4 separate regions of the Homo sapiens genome follow, and regions 2, 3 and 4 are each linked to region 1. The links are contacts of gene promoters, found by promoter capture Hi-C in blood cells and fetal thymus (Javierre and others, 2016). All regions are on one chromosome and are shown on one strand. The core of a region is centred on a gene start or on the middle of the fragment in contact, and the rest is flanking DNA. Distances in the headings are between cores, read along the strand shown.

Evidence for each region. Contacts are between HindIII fragments. The CHiCAGO score rates a contact against its expected background, and 5 or more counts as called.
Region 2: the fragment with the promoter of WAS here is called in contact with the fragment with the promoter of PRAF2 in region 1 in 3 of 17 cell types (total B cells, M1 macrophages and total CD4 T cells); the score reaches 7.2 in total B cells.
Region 3: a contact is called between a fragment that was not itself captured here and the fragment with the promoter of PRAF2 in region 1, in 1 of 17 cell types (non-activated CD4 T cells). The highest score is 5.2, in non-activated CD4 T cells.
Region 4: a contact is called between a fragment that was not itself captured here and the fragment with the promoter of PRAF2 in region 1, in 2 of 17 cell types (non-activated CD4 T cells and total CD8 T cells). The highest score is 5.5, in non-activated CD4 T cells.

What each region holds. Positions count from the first base shown.
Region 1 is chrX:49,072,552-49,075,251 of GRCh38, forward strand. It overlaps PRAF2 (PRA1 domain family member 2), which reads right to left and starts at 1,451. Exons shown (of 3, transcript NM_007213.3): 1 at 1,258-1,451; 2 at 1-99. The coding sequence starts at 1,436. It overlaps WDR45 (WD repeat domain 45), which reads right to left. Exons shown (of 11, transcript NM_001029896.2): 10 at 2,585-2,700; 11 at 1,891-2,361. The coding sequence ends at 2,252. RefSeq lists a silencer at 1,634-1,733. The HindIII fragment of the contact is 3,027 bases long and covers 1-1,947 here.
Region 2 is chrX:48,682,458-48,685,157 of GRCh38, forward strand. It overlaps WAS (WASP actin nucleation promoting factor), which reads left to right and starts at 1,342. Exons shown (of 12, transcript NM_000377.3): 1 at 1,342-1,528; 2 at 1,826-1,966. The coding sequence starts at 1,397. The HindIII fragment of the contact is 18,512 bases long and covers 1-2,700 here.
Region 3 is chrX:48,809,809-48,812,508 of GRCh38, forward strand. The region is part of intron 10 of HDAC6 (histone deacetylase 6); the gene reads left to right. Among named protein-coding and RNA genes, the nearest start is that of HDAC6, 9.1 kb to the left of the region's middle. The HindIII fragment of the contact is 7,978 bases long and covers 1-2,700 here.
Region 4 is chrX:48,593,475-48,596,174 of GRCh38, forward strand. No RefSeq gene overlaps it. Among named protein-coding and RNA genes, the nearest start is that of WDR13, 2.7 kb to the right of the region's middle. The HindIII fragment of the contact is 2,361 bases long and covers 260-2,620 here.

The DNA.
Region 1 (2,700 bases), core at 201-2,700:
CGGCGCACAGCTGCGCGGGTCTCAGCTGCCCACACCAGCACGCCGAGGGCCACCGCCACTACCAGCGCGCTCAGGAGCGTATGAAGTGGCCGCACGTACCTGCGGGTACAAGGGAACCAAGCTAGCCGGCCGGGCGGAGAGACGGCCTCCGGACCACCACCCACCCTGGGCCCCAAGAGCCAGGGTCTCCCGTCTCCGGACACTCCAGCCTGGCACATCCTCCCACCAGCCCTATCTCCAGCAGGCCCATCTGCCAGGGCTCCCGACTCACCCTTGTAGACCCCTCCTTTCCTCCTTGTCAATTCCACTGTCCTGTCTTCCTCAGGTCCCCGCTTCAGGCCCTCCCATCCTGCTAGACACTCCCCACACCCCCGGGCTCCCAACACTTCCCTGGACTTTCCTTCCGACTCTGCCCCCGTAGGGCCCCTCATCAGCCTGCCCGCAAGCTCCCCCTTTAACACCAGCCCCTGCAAATCCCTCTTTCAGGCCTTCTGTCTTCACACGTTCCCCTCTCCCCAGGCCTAGGGTCCTTATAGAACCGCCCTCCAGGCTCCCATTTCCCTATAGATTCCTCCCTCCATCATTGCTAGGACCTCTTCCAGGTCGTCAGCCCCACTCTGAACTTTCAGCACTGCTCAAGTCCTTCCTCCAGATTCTCCATCCCTCTCTGGTCTCAGGCTTTCCAACCATGGATCCTCCTCCTGGGCCCAAGTTCCCCAACAGGTACCTGCCCCTGGCGCCTTCCAATCATAGCCAGGCTCCCCTCCAAGACCGGATCCCCAATAAATACATCTTCCAAACCCTCCAACTTTACCGTCTATTTCCCGGTCTCTGCCCTAAGTACTCCAGGGTCGGCCTCAATCTGGCCCCATCATTCACATCACACCCCCCCTACGCCCCTCAAGTACTCTCATGTCCCCCTTTCGGGCCCTCCTTTTTTTCCGGTTCACCTTCCAGCCCACTTTCCCCTTCAGTCCCACACTTGTCTCCATCCTCCCCATATCTTCCTTGCAGACCCCCATCCCCCGCAGGCCCTCCTCATCAGCCAGGCTCCATCTCCCTGAGGCCCTCCTTATAACTAGGCTCCACCTCCTTCAAGGCCCCCCTTCCAAGCCCCTCAGGCCGTCCATCTCTACTGACTTCGCCCTTCCCGGCCTTGCACCCCCCTCAGGTTCCCCGTCCTGGTCCTCAAAGACCTGTGGGTCTACCCCCACGCTCTGCAGACGTCCCTGGCCAACCGGCGCCTCCCTCCCTCACCCGGCGAGAGCGAGGCCGATGCCGAAGCAGAGAAGGTAGTTGGTTTGGTAGTAGAGGAGGTTGTTGATGACGCGGTGGCACCATCGCTGCGGGTCGCATGGATCCGGAGCCGCCAGACGCGCCGACCCCAGAACAAAGTCGTCCAGGGCGCGTAGCGGTGGCAGCCGCACCTCCGACATCCTGCCGGTTAATGTGGCTGGACCAGCCAGGAGGGGGCCGGACTACAACAACCGTTACGCCCCTCGCCACCGCGGGGCACACCGGGAAATGGAGTCTGGGCTGGGCAGCTTTTTCCTAACCTCCTAGGTGGATTGCGCAGGGGCGGCGATGCACGTGACCGGAAAAGCAACTAACACGCCGCTCAGGAAAGCAGCAAAGGCTGCCGGGAAATCAAGCCTTTGCCACGAAGCGAGATGCTCCCAACCCTTAAAACTGCCATCCACCCCCGCGCGGGGCGCCGCAGGGGCTGCTCCGGGCGGTGCCAGCGGCTCAAGCACAAAGTAGCCAGACAGATAAGAAAGGAGGGACTGTCACAAGGATCCGAGTTGGATTCCACCTCCTTCCTGTCAGCGCCCAAGAGGGTCACATTTCTCCAGGAAACTCCATGCCCCGCCCCTGAGGTCAAGCCGTAAATGCCATTAAGGGCCTTTTATTCGTATTCATCACATCGGAGATCATCTCTTCCTAGGAAGCTTTTAAAAAATCCCCAGGTTGGATTAGGGCACTCCCTCTGGGTCCCTGGCAATTTCCTCCAGGTTAGGGATCCCAAGGGGTCGCTGCCTTCCTGGGTCTCTGGCCTGGCCCTTGGGGCACACAGTCATCAAGAAGTGCTGGGGGGAAGTGAGCTCTTTATTTAGACATAGCTCTGCTGAGTGGAAAGTGGGCACCAGCCCCATTAATGCTTGCTGGCTGGTGGCTTCCAAGCACGCCCCACTGCCAAGGCTCAGCTCTGCAGTTCTGCCACTGCAGGTCCCTAGCACAGCCCCCAGGGTCCTTAAAAGTCATCATCATCACAGATGTCAAGGTACACGTCGAAAGCCTCTCTGTTGCAGTTTCCATCAGGAGTGAAGACATATTTGTGGAAGGTCCCATCTACGCAGATGGCTGGGGGAGGGGGGGTGGTAAAAGGTCAGAGGCTGCCACAGCCACAGGCTCCAGTCCTCTCAGGCATCTCAGGACCTAGGGTCTGCCTCCAGGCCTTTGCCCAGTGCTGTCCCCCTTACTGATGATGAAGCTGAGCCTCACATGGCCCTAAAATCCTTTCAGGTCCAACCTGCAGGCCTTTGCCCCATGCAGTACCCCCAACCAAGGGGCTGTTCCCACTCACCAATGACAGAGTTGACGTTCTTGGAAGTATTGCGACCGAAGGCGCAGATGCAAGCTGACTCAGCAGGCACAGTGAAGCTCGCCAGGCTCCACTGAGAGTCCACGTACTGCCCAATC
Region 2 (2,700 bases), core at 92-2,591, 390 kb before region 1:
GTGAGTGTTAAGATAAAACTAGGATGTCCAGTGGGGAGAAAGCAAGCCTTTGAAGATTATGTGCTTTTACAAACTTCAAGTGCAATGAAAACTAAACAAGATGTTGTTCAGGCATTCATATATGATATAAAGTTCCTTTCTTTAAAAAAGGGATGGGCTGGGCACGGTGGCTCACGCCTGTAATTCTAATACTTTGGGAGGCCGAGGCAGGTGGATCACGAGGTCGAGAAATCGAGACCATCCTGGCCAACATGGTGAAACCCTGTCTCTACTAAAAATACAAAAAAATTAGCTGGGCGTGGTGGCGTGTGCCTGTAGTCCCAGCTACTTGGGAGGCTGAGGCAGGAGAGTCACTTGAACCCGGGAGGCAAAGGTTGCAGTGAGCCGAGATCGTGCCACCGCACTCCAGCCTGGCGACAGAGTGAGACTCCATCTCAAAAAAAAAAAGAAAAAAAAAAGTATGACAAGCAGAAAGTAATTTGGGAGCTGCGGGGAGGCAAGGGTAAGGGATGGGGAAGTGGACCAGAGGCATATGCGTCATTGGCAGTGTCTAAGCACTCACGATAGGCGTGGATCACAGGGGCTCGCTCTGTAATTAAAAGGAAAAGGGTTTTTGTTGTGTTGTTGTTGTTGCTGTTTTTGAGACAAGGGTCTTGCTCTGTCATCATCCAGGCTGGAGTGCAGTGGTGCAGTCTCAGCTCACTGCAACCTCCGCCTCCTGGGTTCAAGCGATTCTCCTGCCTCAGCCTCCTGAGCAGCTAGGACTACAGGTGTGTGCCACCATGCCTGGCTAATTTTTGTATTTTTTAGTGGAAATGGGGTTTTGCCATGTTGCCCAGGCTCGTCTTGAACTCCTGACCTCAAGTGATCCACTCGTCTCGGCCTCCCAAAGTGCTGGGATTACAGGTGTGAGCTATTGTCCCCAGCCAAAAGGAAAAGTTTTACTGTAGTAACCCTTCCGGACTAGGGACCTCGGGCCTCAGCCTCAGGCTACCTAGGTGCTTTAGAAAGGAGGCCACCCAGGCCCATGACTACTCCTTGCCACAGGGAGCCCTGCACACAGATGTGCTAAGCTCTCGCTGCCAGCCAGAGGGAGGAGGGTCTGAGCCAGTCAGAAGGAGATGGGCCCCAGAGAGTAAGAAAGGGGGAGGAGGACCCAAGCTGATCCAAAAGGTGGGTCTAAGCAGTCAAGTGGAGGAGGGTTCCAATCTGATGGCGGAGGGCCCAAGCTCAGCCTAACGAGGAGGCCAGGCCCACCAAGGGGCCCCTGGAGGACTTGTTTCCCTTGTCCCTTGTGGTTTTTTGCATTTCCTGTTCCCTTGCTGCTCATTGCGGAAGTTCCTCTTCTTACCCTGCACCCAGAGCCTCGCCAGAGAAGACAAGGGCAGAAAGCACCATGAGTGGGGGCCCAATGGGAGGAAGGCCCGGGGGCCGAGGAGCACCAGCGGTTCAGCAGAACATACCCTCCACCCTCCTCCAGGACCACGAGAACCAGCGACTCTTTGAGATGCTTGGACGAAAATGCTTGGTGAGCTGGGGATCTCCTGCCCCCGCCCCGTCCCCACCGTTTCTTCCTCTTCCTCTCCTCCTTCTCTCTCTTCCCCTCCTCCCGCTCCTCCTTTCCCTCTCCATCATCTCCTCTCCTAGAATTTCCCGTCATAATCCACCCTTCCCAGGAAGATCTCAATGTCTACTTGCCTTCCCTCTGGCTGCAGCTCTTCCTTTGGGCCCATGACTGTCATGAGGCAGGAAGGACCAGGTCTGGCTCCAAGACCTTGTGGCTACCCCTGACCAGACTCCACTGACCCCTGCTTTCCTCTCCCAGACGCTGGCCACTGCAGTTGTTCAGCTGTACCTGGCGCTGCCCCCTGGAGCTGAGCACTGGACCAAGGAGCATTGTGGGGCTGTGTGCTTCGTGAAGGATAACCCCCAGAAGTCCTACTTCATCCGCCTTTACGGCCTTCAGGTGACCCCCCCACCCCCGACTGGACTTGCAAGCCAGTTCTCAACCCGCAAACCCAGATCTGTGTCCATATGTGTCCATAGCTTCAAGACCTCAGACCTGATCAGTGAATCCCTGAGCCCCAGAACCAAAGACTCATCCAGATGGCAAACTCTGACTTGCCTTTCTAAGTCTGCAATGACTGGCCCCAGTCTCCGTATCAAGATCTCTAAAGCCCCCAGTATTAGTCTGCTGCCTAAGCCTAATCTTTTCCACAAATTCCAATAAATGAGCACTGTATTTGTACCTGAACCTCAAATCTATTCTAAACTCAACATTTTGCATCCCAGGAATCTCTCATCAAAACTCCTGAACCCCAGATGTTTGCCAAGCTCCTAAGTCATAAATCTGTTCAACAAACCCCAAAGTTGAATATTCCATTGATCCTTGAACTCCAAATCTGTCCTTCTAAATCCACAGCACAGACCCCAGAGTTCCCATATTAAAATTCCTGAACACTCAAATACCGAGGTAGTTCTTAAGCAAAAAGTCTTTTCCACAATCCCCTGACCTGAACTTTCTAGGTTTAAGCCCCAAATTCATCCTTTTAAACCCATAAAGATGGACCCAGCATAACTTCCAGATCCCAAGGCTATCAAATATCCACCAAACTCCTAAACCATAACTCTCTCCACAAACCCCAAATTGCACTTACTTTAGCTGGACTCCCCGCGAAACTCCCAAGTCTATGTGTCTGA
Region 3 (2,700 bases), core at 60-2,559, 260 kb before region 1:
AAAAAAAGTTTAGGATTTTACAGCATTTCAGATTTCAGATTTCTAGATTAGGGATGCTCAACCTGTAGTAGTTTTATCTAGCCTTCTTCCTAGCTGACTACAGAGAATCCACTTATCCAAGATCTGAAGAATCCAATTTAGGTTGGTTGTTCTCTAGACATTGCTTTATTATTTTGCAGCATTCAGTGTTCCTGACAGGTGTCTGCTTTTCATTCCTTTCCAAGTAATCTACTTTCCTCTCTGCAAGGTTATCTTGGTGTTCTTTTTTTTTTTTTTTTAAATTATTAGACAGGGTATCACTCTGTCACCCAGGCTGGAGTATAGTAGCATGATCATAGCCCACTGTAACCTCAAACTCCTGGGCTCAAGCAATCCTCCTGCCTCAGCCTCCCAAGTAGCTAGGACTGCAGGCATGTGCCACCACACCCAGCTAATTTTTTAAATTATTTGTAGAGACAGGGTCTCACTATATTGCCCAGACTGGTCTCGAACTCCTGACCTCAAGTGTCCTCCCACTGCAGCCTCTCAAAGCACTGAGATTACAGGCATGAGCCACTGTACCTAGCCTTGATGTTCTAAACTTTTACCCTGGCCTTTTCACTCTGTTTAATAGTAGGTAGACATTTTACATCTGAAGATTCATGCTTTTCTTAAACTCTTGGAAATTATTTTCTATTAGATCTTTGATAATTTCTTCTTTGTTTTCTCTGTTCTCTTTCTAGGACTTCTGTTAGTCAGATGTTAGACTTCCTGGGTTGATCCTCTATGTCTCTCTCTTTTTTATTATTTATTTATTTATTTATTTATTTATTTTTTTTGAGACAAGGTCTTGCTCTGTTGCCCAGACTGGAGTACAGTGGCACAAATACGACTCACTGCAGCCTCGACCTCCCGGGCTCAAGCAATCCTCATGCCTCAGCCTCCTGAGTAGCTGGGACCACAGGTGCACACCAGCATACCCAGCTAATTTTTTAATCTTTTGTAGAGATGGGGTCTCACCATGTTGCCCAGGCTTCTTATTTTTTATCTTATGTTTTCTGTCTCTTTTTTCTTTTGCTGTGACCTGGGAGATTTTGTCAACTTTATCTTCAAGCCCTTCTGTTGAATTATGTATTTAGATATCCTGTTAAACTCCAAAAGCTCTTTCTTCCTCTCTGTTTCTATGTCCTCTCATACCTGATCTTGTTTTTATAGAGTATGGATTAGAAGTGCCGGCTGGGTGCGGTGGCTCATGCCTGTAATCCCAGCACTTTGGGAGGCCGAGGTGAGTGGATCACTTGAGGCCAGGAGTTCGAGACCAGTCTGGCCAACATGGTGAAACCCCATCTCTACTAAAAATACAAAAATTACCCAGACGTGATGGTGCGCACCTGTAATCCCAGCTACTCAGGAGGCTGAGGCAGGAGAATCGCTTGAACCCAGGAGGCGGAGGTTGCAGTGAGACAAGATCATGCCACTGCACTCCAGCCTGGGCGATAGAGGGAGACCCTGTCTCAAAAAAGGAAGTGCCTTAAGTTTCTTCTGTTGTCTGAGTTATGTCTCTTTATTCTGAGGCTGGTTGAATTATTTTTTTCTTGGTCCTTCTCTTTTATGCTGATGGTTTTCCTCAAATGTCTAGCAATCCTTATTTGGCTATTTATACCCAAGAATGAAGGCCCATTGTAGGGGGCTGTCAGAGGACTACTCTGCTGCAGTGTTTGTAGGTCTGTTTTCCTGAAAGGCATTTCCCCAGAATGGGGACAGGGAATGTCCACTGACAGGTTGCAACTTTAGCGAGTGTGGGCAAGGACCCGGGCATTAGATGGGATCCTGCCAGATGTCAGAACAAAGGAGGCCTCTTCTTTGGGGTAACATCTCTTTTTTCCCTCAGCCTTTCCAAAGTGTATCTGTTGTACTTATCTTTTCCAGTGTAGCTTTGGGCTTTGTTGGTCATCTCTACTGTTTTATTATGGTGGGTTTTTAATACTTCATTAATTTTTCTGGTTTTATCTTTATTAATGTTTTCCTCCGACGTTCTTTATTTTGTTCATTTCTGGCTTCTGGAATTTAATGCTTCAACATTTATCAACTCATTGGCCGATCTCATTTCATCTATACCTGTACCCACTGCCCTCTTCCTGTTTTCCTTCAAAGCTAATCCCAGATACCATATAATTTCTCCTGTAAATATTTCAGAATGCATCTCTAAAACATAAGTACACTTTTTTAGAAAAGCATTACCTTAGTATCAATACCTGAAAATTAACAATAATTATTTTTTTAATCTGCCAAGGGTCTGTCATTCAAAGAATTCTTTAATATCATTAATCATTCTTTTTGTTTGAATAAATGCATAGGAGGCTATAGCTGTGTGTTCTTTCATGGGTACACTATTGATTACACACACAGATGTGAAACACTGTGAATATATTCAGTGCATTCTTCCTTATTAACAAACGTGTGTAAACAAACAAACAAAAAGAACATGTCCATGCCCTTGGATCTCCCAGCTCCCCATCTCTCAGTCTCTGAACTCCAGCAGCAGGGAGACAAACTGGATAATCCTTAAAATACTGTTGTGAAGACAAGGAAAGCAGATGATCTAAAACTAAGTAGTTAAAAGAAACAAGTAACTTTGTTGTATTGGTGATTCAGTGAGTTGGCTCTTCAGAAGGGATTTTGTGTGCATTGACCTGGATCTGTACTGGATTTCTCCAGAAA
Region 4 (2,700 bases), core at 190-2,689, 480 kb before region 1:
TTGTTTTTTTTTTTTTGTTTGTTTGTTTGTTTTTTTTTTGAGACAGGGTCTCACTGCGTTGCCCAGGCTGGAGTGCAGTGGTGTGATCACGGTTCACTGCAGCCTCAACTTCGCAGGCTCCAGTGATCTCCCACCTCAGCCTCTTGAATAGCTGGGACTACAGGTGTACACCATCATGCCTGGTTATTTTTTTTTATTTTGTAAAGATAGAGTCTCACCATGCTGTCAGGCAGGTCTCAAACTTTGAAAACTAACCGAAAGCTTGTAACAAGCAGAGGAATGTTTAATCAAGAAAAACCAGCTGAGTGGCTCATGCCTGTAATCCAGCACTTCGGGAGGCCAAGGCAGGCAAATCACGTGAGGTCAGGAGTTCGAGACCAGCCTGGCCAATATGGTGAAACCCATCTCTACTAAAAACACAAAAATTAGCCTGGCATGGTAGTGCACGATTGTAGTCCCAGCTACTTGGGAGGCTAAGGCACGAGAATCGCTTGAGCTGGGAGGCAGAGGTGCCCATGTTGGCGAGGCTGGTCTCTAACTCCTGGCCTCAAGTGACCCACCCTCCTCAGCCTCCCAAAGTGGTGGGATTACAGGCGTGAGCCACAGTGCCCAGCCAACAAACCTTTCATCAGCTTGTTTTGTCTAGTATCTTATAGCCTTATAGGAAGAGGTTTTAAAAATAATTTTTATAAATTTAATATGTTAATATTGAAAAACAATAAAAGAATTCATTCCAATGGTGAAACAGAATTTCCCAGGTATCCCTGACTCGAATTCCTGACTCTTCTGTTATTTCATTCCATCATATTTCTTTGGAAGCAGAGTGGTGGGATGAAGGGGCAGGGCTCTGTTGAGAGAAGGTGGAAGTGAATGGGAAAGGTATTTATCACAACACTCTTTATGGTGAAAAAAGAACATGGAAATAAACCCAATGCCAGTCACAAATAGGGGACCAGTTCAGGGCTGGGTGCAGTGGCTCATGCCTGTAAATCTCAGCTCCTTGGGAGGCTGAGGTGGAAGGATGCCTCAAGGCCACGAGTTCGAGACCAGCCTGGGCAACATATCAAGATACCCCCATATCTCTCTCTTTTTAAAAAAAACAAAAAAAAAAAACAAAAAAAAAAAACAGGGTCTTACTCTAACATCCAAGCCAGAGTGCAGTGGCATGGCTCACTGCAGCCTTGACCTCCCAGGCTCAAGCAATCCTCCCACCTCACCCTCCTGAGTAGCTGGGACTATGAGCACACACCACCACACCCAGCTAATTTTATTTTTGTAGAGATGTAGTCTCACTGTGTTGCCCAGGCTGGTCTCAAACTCCTAGACTCAAGTGATCTTCTTGCCTTGGCCTCCCAAAGTATTGGGATTACAGGTACGAGCCACCATGCCCAGCCGACCCCATGTCGCTCTCTCTTTTTTAATTAATTTATGTTTGAGATGGAGTTTCGCTCTTGTTGCCCAGGCTGGAGTGCAATGGCACGATCTCAGCTCACTGCAACCTCCGCCTCCAGGGTTCAAGTGATTGTCCTTGCCTCAGTCTCCCAAGTAGCTGGGATTACAGGCTCCTGCCACCATGCCCGGCTAATTTTTTGTATTTTTAGTAGAGACAGAGTTTCACCATGTTGCCCAGGCTGGTCTCGAATTCCTAACCTCAGGTGATCTGCCCGCCTCAGCCTCCCAAAGTGCTGGGATTACAGGTGTGAGCCACCACATCCGACCTCTTTTTTTTTTTTTAAGAGACAGGGTCTCGCTCTGTTGCCCAGGTTGGAGTGTAGTGGCATGATCACAGCTCACTGCAGCCTTAACCTCCCAGGCTCAAGCAATTCTTCTGCCTCAGCCTCCCGAGTAGCTGGGACTACAGGGATGTACCACCATGCCTAATTTTTGGTAGAGATGGGGTCTCACTTTGTTCCCCAGGCTGGTCTCAACTTCCTGGACTCAAGTGATCCTCCCGCCTCAGCCTTCCAAAGTGCTGGGATTACAGACATAAGCCACTACGCCCAGTTGACACCATGTCTTAAAAAAAAAAAAAAAAAAAAAAACGTAAGGGAACCAGTTCAATAAAATGTCACCCTTGAATTCCCTGGGCTTCAGATATCCTCATCTGTAAAATGGGGATAGTAACAGGACCCACAACCTTCAGTTATTATGATTAAATTGACTGGGTACAGTGGCTCACGCCTGTAATCCTAGCACTTAGGGAGGCCGAGGCGGGCGAATCACTTGAGCTCAGGAGTTTGAGACCAGCCTGGCCAACATGGTGAAACCCCGTCTCTACCAAAAATAGAAAAATTATCCGGGCGTGGTGGCAAATGTCTGTGGTCCCAGCTCCCGGGAGGCTGAGGTAGGAGGACTGCTTGAGCCCAGGTGGCAGAGATTGCAGTGAGCCAAGATCGTGTCACTGCACTCCAGCCTGGGTGACAGAGTGAAACCCCATCTCAAAAAAAAAAAAAAGATTAAATAGATTAATATATGTATAAAATACCTTGAACAGTACCCAGCACATTGTCTCATAAATATTAGTTGTTCTTGTTAAGGTTACATGTTTGTGCAGTGAAATAGAGTTTACTCTTTATCAATCATGTTACAAAAGAGTATTTAATATGAAAAGACACTGATAAGCTTGTTACAGGGACAAGGGAGATGCTGAGTCAACACAATACAGTGTGATCTTTCGGTGACTTTAAAACATTGTTGAAT